2 separate regions of the Homo sapiens genome follow, and region 2 is linked to region 1. The links are contacts of gene promoters, found by promoter capture Hi-C in blood cells and fetal thymus (Javierre and others, 2016). All regions are on one chromosome and are shown on one strand. The core of a region is centred on a gene start or on the middle of the fragment in contact, and the rest is flanking DNA. Distances in the headings are between cores, read along the strand shown. Region 1 holds the start of PIGP (phosphatidylinositol glycan anchor biosynthesis class P). Region 2 overlaps DYRK1A (dual specificity tyrosine phosphorylation regulated kinase 1A).

Region 1 (6,259 bases), core at 1,521-4,020:
CTACCTACTACATCAGTGATGATGCATTCTTTTCTTAACAAATATGTATTACAGAATTCTGTATGTCAGGTGTGTGAGACACAATATTGAATCCAAAAGAGATGGCTTCTGCCCTCCCTAAACTTAAAATCTAGTGGTGAATAGAGAAAATTGGTATTTTCACTACATTGTTACAAGTGCTCACGAATGAGTAATAAAAGATGACATAGAAGCACATTAGAAGGCCCTCCTTCCACTTCGTATCCTCCTTCCCTTTGCTTAATTTCTCCCCATAGTACGTTATCACCTGATACTATATACGTTTTTCTTATTTAACTTGCCCATTGACTATCTCCCCCCGGCATGAGAATGAAGACTCAAAGCAGGGCATTTTTGGCTGTTTTGGTCCTTCCTGGCCTGTAACAGTGCCTGGCACATGGTAAGCACCAATAAATACTTGAATTACTTTTTGGTTGTGGGTATGATGGAATTTAATTTTGTTTTGAGACAGTTTCGCTCGTTGCCCAGGCTGGAGTGCAAAAGTGCAATCTCAGCTCACGGCAACCTCCGCCTCCCGGGTTCAAGCGATTCTCCTGCCTCAGCCTCCCGAGTAGCTGGAGTTACAGGCATGCGCCACCATCCCGGCTAATTTTGTATTTTTAGTAGAGACAGGGTTTTTCCATGTTGGTCTGGCTGGTCTCAAACTCCCGACCTCAGATGATCTGCCTGCCTCGGCCACCCAAAGTGCCGGGATTACAGGCGTGAGCCACCAGGCCGGCCAGAATTTAAGCCTTAAAGTGATTGCTTTTATTTATTCATATAGCTTCTAATCCTTGACATACTCTTTGAACAAGGATTTACAAAAGTGCTAACAATAACATCAGTAGCTAACACTTATTAAGTCCCTAACTGTTCCTAGGCATTATTTTACGTGCTTTACATAAATTACCCCCGTTAATCCTCACAACAGTCAGAAGAGGCAGCAGAGTGAAGTCAGCCAGTGTATTTGGGTTCAAATTTAGAAGGCTTTTATTTAGTAGCTTTGCAATCTTGAGCAAGTTACTGAAACCACAGGATGCTCATCTTTAAAGGACAGTAATAACAGAACCTACCCCATAGAACTGTTTCATGCGTCATAAGCATTTAATAACCATCATTATCACTACCCTTTTACAGATAAGGAACCTGAGGCTCAAAAAATTTGCTGAGGGTCCCAGCTCACATGGCTAATCTGTGGAGGAGTCAGAATTCGAACTCAGTTGTAACTTCTTCACTTCACTTCAGTTTTAATAGCCTGGCCATTACATTCATCTGCAAGCTGTGCTGATGGTGCAGGCTGATATATTTTAGTTAGGGTTCAGAAGTACTACCACTCCTCCACTTTCCTGGTTTCCAAACAGTTGCAGAACGTTGGATCACGGGCACTCAATTTTCTCCCTTTTGTGTGCCTCAAAATTCTCAAATCATTTTGGGGAGAGACTTGGGACTTGCTGTGTGAGTGGGCATATTAGTGTCTTAGTGAGCATCAGTCTCCTTATCTGTAAAATGGAATGTTATGGGGTTAAATTAAGGGAGATCCAGGACGCAAACGACACACCTTTCAACCCGACTTCTCTGGCCTACTTCTCCTGTTCCCCAGATCCCGCAGGGCACACTGGTGACATCACAAGCTCCTCGGGTCCAAACCCTCTCACGCCCTCATTCAAGGCCTTTCCACTTCTTCCCTCCCTCTTACTCTTTCCTAATCAGCATCAGTGCCAGGGGGAAAGGCCTCTGTAGAAAGCCTTGACTTTCCAGTCTGGTTTCAATGTCTCTCCACCGTGCTCCCTGACACTCATCACACTGAGCATTAACTGTAGATTTACCCATCTGTCTCCTCCACAAGACCACGACCTCCTTAAGGGCAGGGACCAGGCTTTATCCACTTTGCCATCGCGTCTGGTGCTGTATAAATATTTGTAGAGACTAAAACCTCCTAGGCTAGTGCTGGCACACGGAACACTCAGCAAACACGAGATCCCTTCAGATTTTCTTAAAAAGAGACATAGGGAGAAAGAATCAACAGTTCATGTGTGCACAGTCTAACCAATGTATTCTTCCCTTGTCACTGAACGCCAGAAAAAGCCCCTGGCCATCCATCAGGAAAGTACTTACTGAAGCCAAATTGGGAGCTTAAGAAAAGAACAAAGCCATAAATCGCTCTTTCTGGCAATGGCGACGGTGAATTTTCCACCATTTTTCCTGGGGCTTTAGACAATCTGTGGAAAAGGAACACAATCAGCGTCAGCGATGTGCTCCGTGGCACCATTGATCCATTCTCGCCTCCTCGCTCCGCCGCGGGTACGGCCCCCGCCGCGCAGAACCGCCTCCCGCGCCTCCGTCCGCAACCCGCGCCCCCGCCTCGAGCGCATACAGACACCCAGGCTGGCGCGCGCCCCGCAACAGAAGGGGTGGCGGAGGATAGGGCAGGGAGGGGGGTTCTGGGGCGATAGACGCGCGCTCCAGCTCTGCAAGCGTGGCCTCCCTGTGGGAGGGGAGGGCAGGGAACAAGGCTCGCGCGGCGCCCACCAGCATGCGGGCCTACTAGGTCGCGGCGCCCAGGCCCCGGGCCCTGCCCATTCGTGGAGACTTCTATTTCTCATTCGAGGCGGGGTATGGGGGGGCCCTCGACCTCGGGTCCTTCATACGCCCACCCAGGCCCCTCCCGACACCTCGGCCACCTCAGCGCTGAGTTCTCCGCGCAAGCGCCGACTGGGGAGCCGCAGTGGGGAAGAGGAAAACCTGAGGGAAAGGCCTAGGCGCGACGGCAACCCCCACCCTGGCGCAGGCGCACAACGACCCTCCCCGGGTGGGAGCCAGCGAGCGCGGGGGCGGGCGTGATCCCGCGGCTCGCGACGGCGAAGGAGGGGGCGGTGGGGTGCGACTGCGCACGCGCGCTGCCAGCCCACGTGACGCACCTCGCTTCAACGCCGCCACCCGCTCCCTCCCGCCGTCGGCTGACGTGGAGGGCCGGAGGTGGCGGCGGCGGCGGCGGCGGCTGCTGCTGCTGCTGCCCGCGTCCGAGGCTCGCGGGCGGCGGGCCCGGGTGAGTGCACACCCGGCGCGCTGCCGGGCTCCCGGATGTGTCACCTTGTCCCGCTGCAGCCGAGATGCCGGGGGAGCGGGGCCTTCCACACCCCCTCCGTGGGTGTGTGGTGAGTGTGGGTGTGTGCGCGTCTCCTCGCGTCCCTCGCTGAGGTGCCTACTGTGTCTGCATGGGTTGGGTCCCGCGCGATGAGGGGGTGTGGCCGCCATTGCCTACCCCAGTGGGTTTGCCCCCTTGGTCTGGTGCCCCTTCGCGAGCGAGGCCCTGGGATGCCGGTGCGAGGGTGTGAGTAGTCCCTTTGTGCGCAACCCCCCGCTGCCCGTGCCTCGGCCGGTGCGTGGCTGACACCTCCGCTGGGTGGAGGCGCTCGCGTGTCGCCTCGTCGCCCCTTTTGTGTCGGTGTCCGCGCTCCCTGGCGGCTGCGTGGGCGCTCTCGGCCTTGCAGGTGGCCCCCCTTTGTGTTACTGCCCCTGTCTGTGGGCTGCGCGTCCCCTAGCGCGCGTGGCCGCGCCTTCTGCAATTGCGACCCCCGCCTAGAGCCTTGCTCGCGCAAGTGTGCGTCCTTGCGTGTCTCCGAGTGACGCAGAGTGTCTGCGCATGGGTCCTGTTGAGTGCGTGATCTCTTGTGTGCGGATTTAATTCTGTCGAGTGGGTATCTCTTGTGTGCAGGTTTCGTTGGTGAGCGTGAACGTTCGTGCACACCCCTTGCTGTGTGTGCGTGTCACGACTCTGTTGCCACCTGTTTTCGTGTGAACTGGCAGTCCAGTCCAGGGCCTGTCCCCACGGAACGGACCCAGGAGGGGGGTAACCTCGCCGCTCCCCTCGCCCCCGCGCCTCTTTCTGAGCATTCTCTCCCACAGACGCTAATGGGAAGGGGGGTGGACAGGATCGAGTCTGGCCAGCTGCTCCGCAGTGTTGACGCTGCCAGTGTGGCCTCTTCAGCCAGCCTGTTCAGGAGACAGAATAGGGGGATCAAAGATAAAAAATGAAGCCGAGACGTAGGTGAATTTGGGCTGGTACCAGTGCGCCGTGCCTTTTCCAGTGGCGCCCTGGACGCCAAAACCCCCTCAGTTGCAGAGACCTTTCAAAATATATGCACTCTCCTACTGGGCGATGCGGTCCTTAGGCGTTCTTGATGATATTTAATGGTTTATAGAGTATTTTATGGCATTCACCTAAATCTCTTTCCATTTTGCCCAAGATCCTGGCGAGGGAAACAAGGTAGAAATTTTACAGATTTTACTCCTCCGGAGAGAGCCTTTTCCTTATAACTACGACTCTAGTTAGGACATTTTTTGTTGCAAGAAATTTGCGATTTATCCTAAGGAAAATGGGATATAGTATAAGGATACCTAGGGTAAGAAACTTCAAACCCCTTAGAGACCCAGCTACTGCTCCGATTGCTCAAGGTTTCGTGCTCTGCGCTCAAGGGCTGCGTTTTGGTGTCTTTGTTCTGCCCAATTTTCTTATTGTCTAATTTTCCTTTTTTTCTTTTAATTTTTGGAATATTTCAGATATCAAATACAGAGGGGGAGCTAACCAATCCATGATTCAGATTTTACAGACGTGATTATTTAATCTTTTGCCAAATTTACTTCAGATACTCTTTTTTTTTAAAGAAATAAAATTGCTCTCAGTTCCTTCCCCTCCTTTTCTAGAGATAGCCACTGCGTTGAGGTTTGTGTATATCTTTACTTTGCATATTTTATACTTTGATCAAGGTGAATCCATACACAATATATATTATTGTTTGTTTTTAAACTTTAATGGCATTAAAATATACATGCCTTTTTGCAACTTGCTTTTTTTTTTTTTGCTCAGCATCATATTTTGAGGTTTATATATGAACAAATTGAATGATTGTGTTATCTTTGGTTCATTCATTTTAATTGCTGGTATAGAATTGCGTTGTATGAATATACCATATTTATTTATACATTCCCCTGTTGATAGACTTTGAACTTGTTTCAGTTTTTGACTCTTAAAAACAGTCCTGCAATAAATATCTTTGTACTTGTCTGCTTGTGCACACATTTGGAAGTTTCTGTAGGAAGTACACCTAAGTAGTAGATTTGCCGGATTGTAGGCTATGTGCGTCTTCAATTTAACCAAGTATCACAGAAGCTCTCGAAGTGGTTGTACCAATTTTCACTGTCACTGGTGTTGAGTGAGAACACAATTTCCTCACAACCCTGCTAACACTTTATGTTATGAGACTTTACATTTTTGCCATCTCTTTACTGACCAGCTTCCTTATGACTTTTGGTTGCTGCTAAATTTGCTTGTAGCCACCTTGGCTTCTCTTGTAGCCCTGTGTCAGCCTATGGATTTATCTCTTATAGCTAATTGGCTTAGTCTTTATCTCCTTTGGTTCTCATAAGATTAATTCCAATGAACATTTGTTGTATACCTAATGTATGTCAGATCCTATGATTGATGTATAGATAGAATTTCCATGATATGTTAAATATGTACCTCTTTAGTGGCAGGTGAGGTGATTTAATTAAAAGTATTTTTTTTCTTATGATGAATGTTTAAAAAATTTTTCTTTTCCTCTCCATTTTATTGTAGTATTTGATAAATTCAAAATATATGTAAAACATATGCAAGCTGTATAGCAGAACAATAAAATGAACACCTATGAATTCACCACTCAATCCAATAATCAAAATGACCAGTATTGAATGTGCTTACTTCCAGAGGTGACTACCATCCTGAATTGTGTATATTATGCCTTGTTTTTAAAAATAATTTTATCAGATATGTATACATCCCTCAAAAATGTATTGTATGGTTTCTGTTGTTTTTGAGTGGAAAAAATCATATTGGGTATAGTTTCCTGGGACTTGCTTATTTCACTTGATGTTATGTTTCTGAGTTACTAATATTGGGTATAGATGTAAGTCATTAATTTTCACTGCTGTGTAATATTCCAAGTGTGAATATAACACAGTGTATGCATTCTTCTGTTAATGGGCATTTTGGTTGTTTCTAGGTTTTGCTGTTATGAAGTTATATACTTTTTGGTTCACAGTTGTAAGAATTTTTCTAATTTTCACACTGGGGTATATGAGCCCCAGAGGAGTAATGAAGATTTGCTAAGGAATGTGTGGGTACAAATGATGTTAATGAATCAGTTTCTAGATCATTACATTCCATAGGTACTCTTTCCTAAAAATGGTAATGCCTGAGGCC
Region 2 (6,259 bases), core at 1,645-4,144, 400 kb after region 1:
CAAGACCAGCCTGGCCAACATGGTGAAACTCTGTCTCTACTAAAAATACAAAAATTAGCTATGGGTGGTGGCGGGTGCCTGTAATCCCAGCTAGTTGGGAGGCTGAGGCAGGAGAATTGCTTGACCCTAGGAGACAAAGGTGGCAGTGAGCCAAGAGTGCACCACTGCCCTCCAGCCTGGGTAACAGCGCAAGACTCTGTCTCAGAAAAAAAAAAGGAAATGTTGACTTTCAAGCTCTACTGAATCAGAACCGTCATTTTTAAAAAGATTGAAAAACAATTTGCAGGCACATTAAAGTCCAAGAAGTGCTGTTACAGATTATGAATGGCATTGTCACCTCCGCAAGACAGTGCTGATGCAGCCCCTCAGTAAGTGCTTGTTGAATTTAATGCATATAATTCACTCAATCTAGATTCAAAAAATGAAACAAGTATTTCAGGAGGGTAGTGATAACAGCAGTAATCAAGGGAACTACCTGTTTCTTTGTAATTCTTTCATAGCTATCTGGATGTCACAGAATTACCCATCTTTCCTTCCAGATGCATCTTTCAGTCTGATTCTATCCATGCTGGATGGTCATTTGGATGTCTTGTGAATACAGTAGATATACACACATATGTGTATGGATGAGAGAGCAACAGAATTAAAACAGAAATCAACATAGTGGATGAGTTTAGGGAGTAATTAGATTTTGATTAGTCAAGGATGCATAATCTTTTGTAATATTGTAATATATAAGGTAACTAAAAAATAAAAATATGGGGAGATGATATAAAAAATTCCAGCAAAAGATAAGAAAGGAAAAGGAACATAAAACAGTTGGAACAAATAGATTGTTAGTGTTCATTTATAGATACAGCTCAACCACATACTCTTTACAAGAGATAAACCTAAAATACAAGGAAACAGAAGAAGGTAAAGGTAAAAAGATGGACAAAAGACATACCATACAAAAATTGATGCAGAGAAGGCTTGGTGTAGTCAGACTGATAACAGATAAAGCAAAAAGCTTTACTAGAAATAAAGAGGGCAGTTTATGATGATAAAAGGTATTATTCATCAGGAAGGCATAACAACCCTGAATTTGTATTATCCAGTATAACACTTTAAGTAGGAGATTTTTAATACATTGTTGTTGGTAACTGATAGAACAAGATGAGACCAAAATTTAAAAAAAAATACCTATATAAGACAGCATACTTAATAAAATTAAACCTTTGATGAGGCGGACCATGAAGAAAGAGAAGACCTCATTAACCAATGTTGAGGTGAAGAGGATATCACAAAAGCTTATGAGAAGATATTATAAAAACTTGATGTCAGTCCATTTGAAATTTAGATGAAGTTATACTATTAGAAAACTACAACTTAACAGACACAGCAGAAAATAGAAAATCTGAATAGTCCTATTAAACATGATCCTTAGTGGAAAGAGCTACCCACTAGTTTTGAAGTCTTTGGGATTTACAAAAGAAAAAAAAAAAAAAACAAAACAAAAAAACGGAAACTATCCACAAGCAAAACTCCTGGTCCAGAAGGTTTCACCAGTGAATCTACCACACACGCATAAAATCATGACCAAATCGCATTCCAGAAATGGAAAATCTTTTTTTGTTTGTTTTCACAGGATCTTGCCCTGGGCTAGAGTGCAAGTGGTGCAATCATGGCTCACTGCACCCTCCTCCTCCTGGGCCCAGGTGATCCTCTAACCTCAGCCTCCTGAGTAACTGGGACCATAGGCATGTGCCACCACACCCTACTAATGTTTTAATTTTTTTGTAGAGATGGGGTCTCACTATGTTGTCTAGGCTGGTCTCAAACTCCTGGGCTCAAGTGATTTTCCCACCTTGGCCTCCAGATTGCTGGGATTACTGGTGGGAACCACCATGCTTGGCTCAAGGAAAGTCGTTTATCATTTCAAAAATCAATCAGCGTCATTCACCACATCAACAGAGTAAATCAGAAAGGTCATCTCATTTCAGTAGATACAGAAAGAGCATTTAATAAAAGTCAGCATCTATTCATGAGGAAAAGGTCTTAGAAAACTAGCAGTAGAAGGAAACTTTGTTAATCTGGGAATAGTATCTGTTAAAAACCTGCAGCAACCATAATACTGGAGAAATGTTGAAAGCTTTCTTTCTAAGAAAGCTGTATTTCCAAGATTGAGAATATGTGAGAGTAGTGTCTGTTACCTCCTTTTTAAATCATCACTGTACTAAAGGTCCCAGCAAGTAGAATAAGGCAAGGGAAAGAATAAGGATTGGAAAAGAAAAATAAAATTGTTCAGATGCTCACTAGCCACATGTGGCTATTTGCTACATTACTGATACAGGTAAATCCATCATTGCGGAAAATTCTGTTGGGCACCACCATTCTATAGAGATCAATGCAATTTCAATTTCAACATCCCAACATGGATTTGTTTTGGTGGATTTGATGAGGTGAATCAGGAACTTACATGGAATAGCCAAACTTACTTACTTTTTTTTTCTTTTAGAGGTAAGGTCTCTGTTACCCAGGCTGGAGCACATACAGTGGCACAATCATAACTCACTGCAGCCTTGAAATCTTGGGCTCAGGCAGTCCTCCCACCCGAGCCTCCTGAGTAATTGGAACTACAGGTGTGCGTCACCATGCCTGGCTTTTTTTTTTTCTTACAGAGATGAGGTGGTGGTGTGTTTCCCAGGCTGGTCTCAGACTCTCGGGCTCAAGTGATTCCCGCCTTGGCCTCCCAAAGCCCTGCAATTACAGGCATGAGCCCCTGCGCCTGGCCTGCCAAAACATTCTTGAAGAAGAACAGAATTTCCTGTTGGATCTTAAAATTTTTAAAGCTATTGTAATTTAGGTAGTGTCCAGTTCTTGAACAGAGACCTAGGTAGGTAAGTCTGTATCCAGTAGAACAGAATAGGCAGTCCAAAACTAGATCCAAGCATAAAGGGAAATGTGATTTATGATAAGGATGGGGTTACAGAGCAGTGGAGAATGTTTGTCTTTTAAATAATTGGTTAAGGATCAATTGGATGTTAATTTGGAGGGGGAAATGAAACTTGATTCCTATTTTACACAGAAGTCAAATGCAAATGGATTTTGCATTTAGATGTGAGAGAGAAAGCCCAGTGTTTAGAAGGTAATAGATTTTTTTCATGACTTTGATATAAGGAAAAATTTCTTAGATTCCAAAAGTATAGTACTAATTGTAAAGCAAAAGTTGATAAAATTAAGAACTTTTATTCATCAAAGTATACCATTAAGAGGGTGACAAGGCAAGCTGCCTGTAACCAATAGGGGCTCGATCATATTCAGAATATGGATTTTTAAAAATCCTAGAAATTTGTAAGAAATGGGCTTACAATTCAGTAGAAAAAATAGAAAAGCAACCTGAATGTACATTTCACGATGTGATGTATAAGTGGCCAATAGACATGCAAAAATGCTCAGAGTAACTAGGAAAATGCAAATTAAAAACCACATTGGAGTACCACAGCACAAATACACTTAGCATAATGGCTGAAATTAGACTGATGATTGCATGCCATAGTGAAGGAGTGGAGCGTGAGAATTTTTCATAAACTGCTAGTGGATAAATTGATTGGAACAAAAAAAGACCAGAAAAACAACAGGACAGCATCTCTGTGTATACCAAACGATGCATAACAAGAAGCTTACAAGTGGCAGTGTTCATAGTAGCCCCAAACTGGAAATAATCCAGGTGTCGGTCAGTAGTAGAATGGATAAATTATCATTTGTCCATATTGTTGTAAAGCAAGGTAATGGACAAACTGCAGTTTATAGGCATAAGATGAAGTAAACAATTCTACTCTATTACATTAGTTTGTACTTGCCCTGCTATAAATAAATACCTGAGACTGGGCAATTTATAAAGAAAGGAGGTTTAGTTGGCTCATGGTTCTTTCTTCAGGCTGTACAGGAAGCATGAAAGCCTCTGGGGAGGCTTCAGGAAGACTTTCAATCATGGCAGAAGGCGTTGGAGAAGCAGGCATGTCTTACATGGCCTGCAAAGTCAGGCAAAAGGGGGAGGTGCCACACAGTTTTAAACAGCCTTTTTTCGTGAGAACTCTTATCACGAGGATAGCACTAGGGGGGATGGTGCTAAACCATTAGAAACCACCCTCCTAATCCAATAACCTCCTACCGGGGCCCTCCTCCAATATTGGGGATTACAGTTCGACATGAGAATTAGGCAGGGACACAGATCCAAACTGTATCACCTGCTTATATGAAAACATCACGCCTGTAATCCCAGCACTTTGGGAGGCTGAGGCGGGTGGATCACGAGGTCAGGAGATCGAGACCATCCTGGCTAACATGGTGAAACCCTGTCTCTACTAAAAATACAAAAAATTAGCCAGCGTGGTGGTGGGCACCTGTAGTCCCAGCTCCTCGGGAGGCTGAGGCAGGAGAATGGCGTGAACCTGGGAGGCGGAGCTTGCAGTGAGCCGAGATTGTGCCACTGCACTCCAGCCTGGGTGACAGAGCGAGACTCTGTCTCAAAAATAAATAAATAAAAACAAATCGGGTTTTGGAGGTCAGGATAGTAGTAACTTTTGAGGAAGAGGAAGGAGGTGTTGGTTAGAAAGGGTCATAGAGTGGTGTGGTGGGTTTCTGGGATGCTGGCCATTTTTTCCCCGTTTCGTGACACAGATTGATTTTATGATAGTAATTTAAGCTTTGTGCTAATGATTTTTATCCTCTTTTCTACAATATTGCATTGAATAAGTTTAAACATAGTATATAACAGTGACATAGATAATAAAAACAGAAGCTAACATTTTTATAAAAAGTGTTTGGTGTGTGTCACAGGTTTCATTCTGTGTGCCTGTTGGTGGTATCTCATTTAAACTTTGTAACAAGGAATAGGGTCAGTATAGTAATACCTCTGCTTCATAGATAGGGAATCTAAGGCTTTGAATGGTTAAGAAATTTGCCAGTCACAGCCTTAGTCTTTTACTGTTTATAAGAACTTTTTATATATTAAGGACCTCAATTCTTTTTATTTATATTCCTTCCTACCTTTTTCTTTTTAATGTTCAGATTTAAAAGCCCTCATCACCCCCAGTATTTGAATTTAGATTTTCAATGTTTTGCTTTTACAAACAACACCAGGATAAACATGCTTGGCATCTTTGTGCACATCATTGATTATTGCCTTAGTGTAAGTTTGTAGAAGTTCTTTTAAAAAGTGAACAAGGTTGTTTTACAGAATTGAATTGAATGAAAGTATTTTTGACTATGAATGATGAAATGTTTAGAAAAGTTGGCCATCTTTCACCACAGTTGTACTATCCTTTTACTTATTTAATAAACATTATTAATCATGTAGATTGGGAAAGTTAAGGACCTCACTGTAATGGGGAGAGACAGAAGAGAATCTAAAGTCTGAAAGCAATGCTAGGGGCAGTTGACATTCCAGCTTCAGCAGGGGTAGAGGACTTGAGATTTGTATTTTAGAAAGGTCACTTTAGCCATGTTATTGAGTAGATCCAGAATTGAAAATAGAATAAAGACAGCTATTAGGAATCTGTTTTGGTAATCTTAAGTGTTATATGTGGTGATGTAGATGAAAAGGTTGTGTTTGAGTATTCTGTTAGGAGAGGGAATGAGCAAGATTGGGCAGCTGTAAGGGAAGAACTCTAACATGACTGCCAGAGTGTTGAGTCTCGTTGACTGCGTAGGAAATGGTGTCATTCCCTGTGGTGGAAAGTAGAGGTGGAACTTATGTTTGGGGAGCTTTGTTCTCTTTGTTTTGCAGAGTGTGTGCCACATTCAGGTAGAGATGGTATGCTCCACAAGGTGGGCACTGGCCCCATGAGCCTTTACTGCACATTGACTGTGCATTACTCTACAGTACTTGCAGATAACATTGGGCCATTTATTAATTGCCAGAGCTGTTCTGAGTATGTTGTATGTACTAAAGCACTAAACCTTCATAACAACCTTTTCAGGTAGGTATTATTATCATTATCAGGATATTAGGTATGCATGGCCATACAGCTGGTCACCGGTAGTGCTGGGATCTCCAACCCCAGCAACCTGGCTGAGAGTCTGTGCCCTTCACTGTTGGACCACCATTATTGTGTGTCTTGAAAATGGTAGAAGTCGGAAGTATTTTGCTACTGAGCGTTATGGTCGGTTGTGTTGTGGCTGTTAGCTGGTTCATTCAGGAGGACAGGCACAAGTATTTTGAATCTAGTCATTCTTGTTGACCAAGGTTTTAGGCTTTAGTCTGTGATTACAAATT

What was found. Contacts are between HindIII fragments. The CHiCAGO score rates a contact against its expected background, and 5 or more counts as called.
Region 2: a fragment that was not itself captured here is called in contact with the fragment with the promoter of PIGP in region 1 in 2 of 17 cell types (total B cells and naive B cells); the score reaches 6.4 in total B cells.

The regions. Positions count from the first base shown.
Region 1 is chr21:37,070,301-37,076,559 of GRCh38, forward strand. It overlaps PIGP (phosphatidylinositol glycan anchor biosynthesis class P), which reads right to left and starts at 2,771. Exons shown (of 5, transcript NM_153682.3): 1 at 2,700-2,771; 2 at 2,134-2,237. The coding sequence starts at 2,215. It overlaps TTC3 (tetratricopeptide repeat domain 3), which reads left to right and starts at 2,954. Exons shown (of 46, transcript NM_001330683.2): 1 at 2,954-3,173. RefSeq lists silencers at 2,242-2,521, 2,762-3,081, 3,302-3,361 and an enhancer at 2,669-2,963. The HindIII fragment of the contact is 9,103 bases long and covers 1-6,259 here.
Region 2 is chr21:37,465,634-37,471,892 of GRCh38, forward strand. The region is part of intron 2 of DYRK1A (dual specificity tyrosine phosphorylation regulated kinase 1A); the gene reads left to right. Among named protein-coding and RNA genes, the nearest start is that of KCNJ6-AS1, 50 kb to the right of the region's middle. The HindIII fragment of the contact is 1,530 bases long and covers 2,130-3,659 here.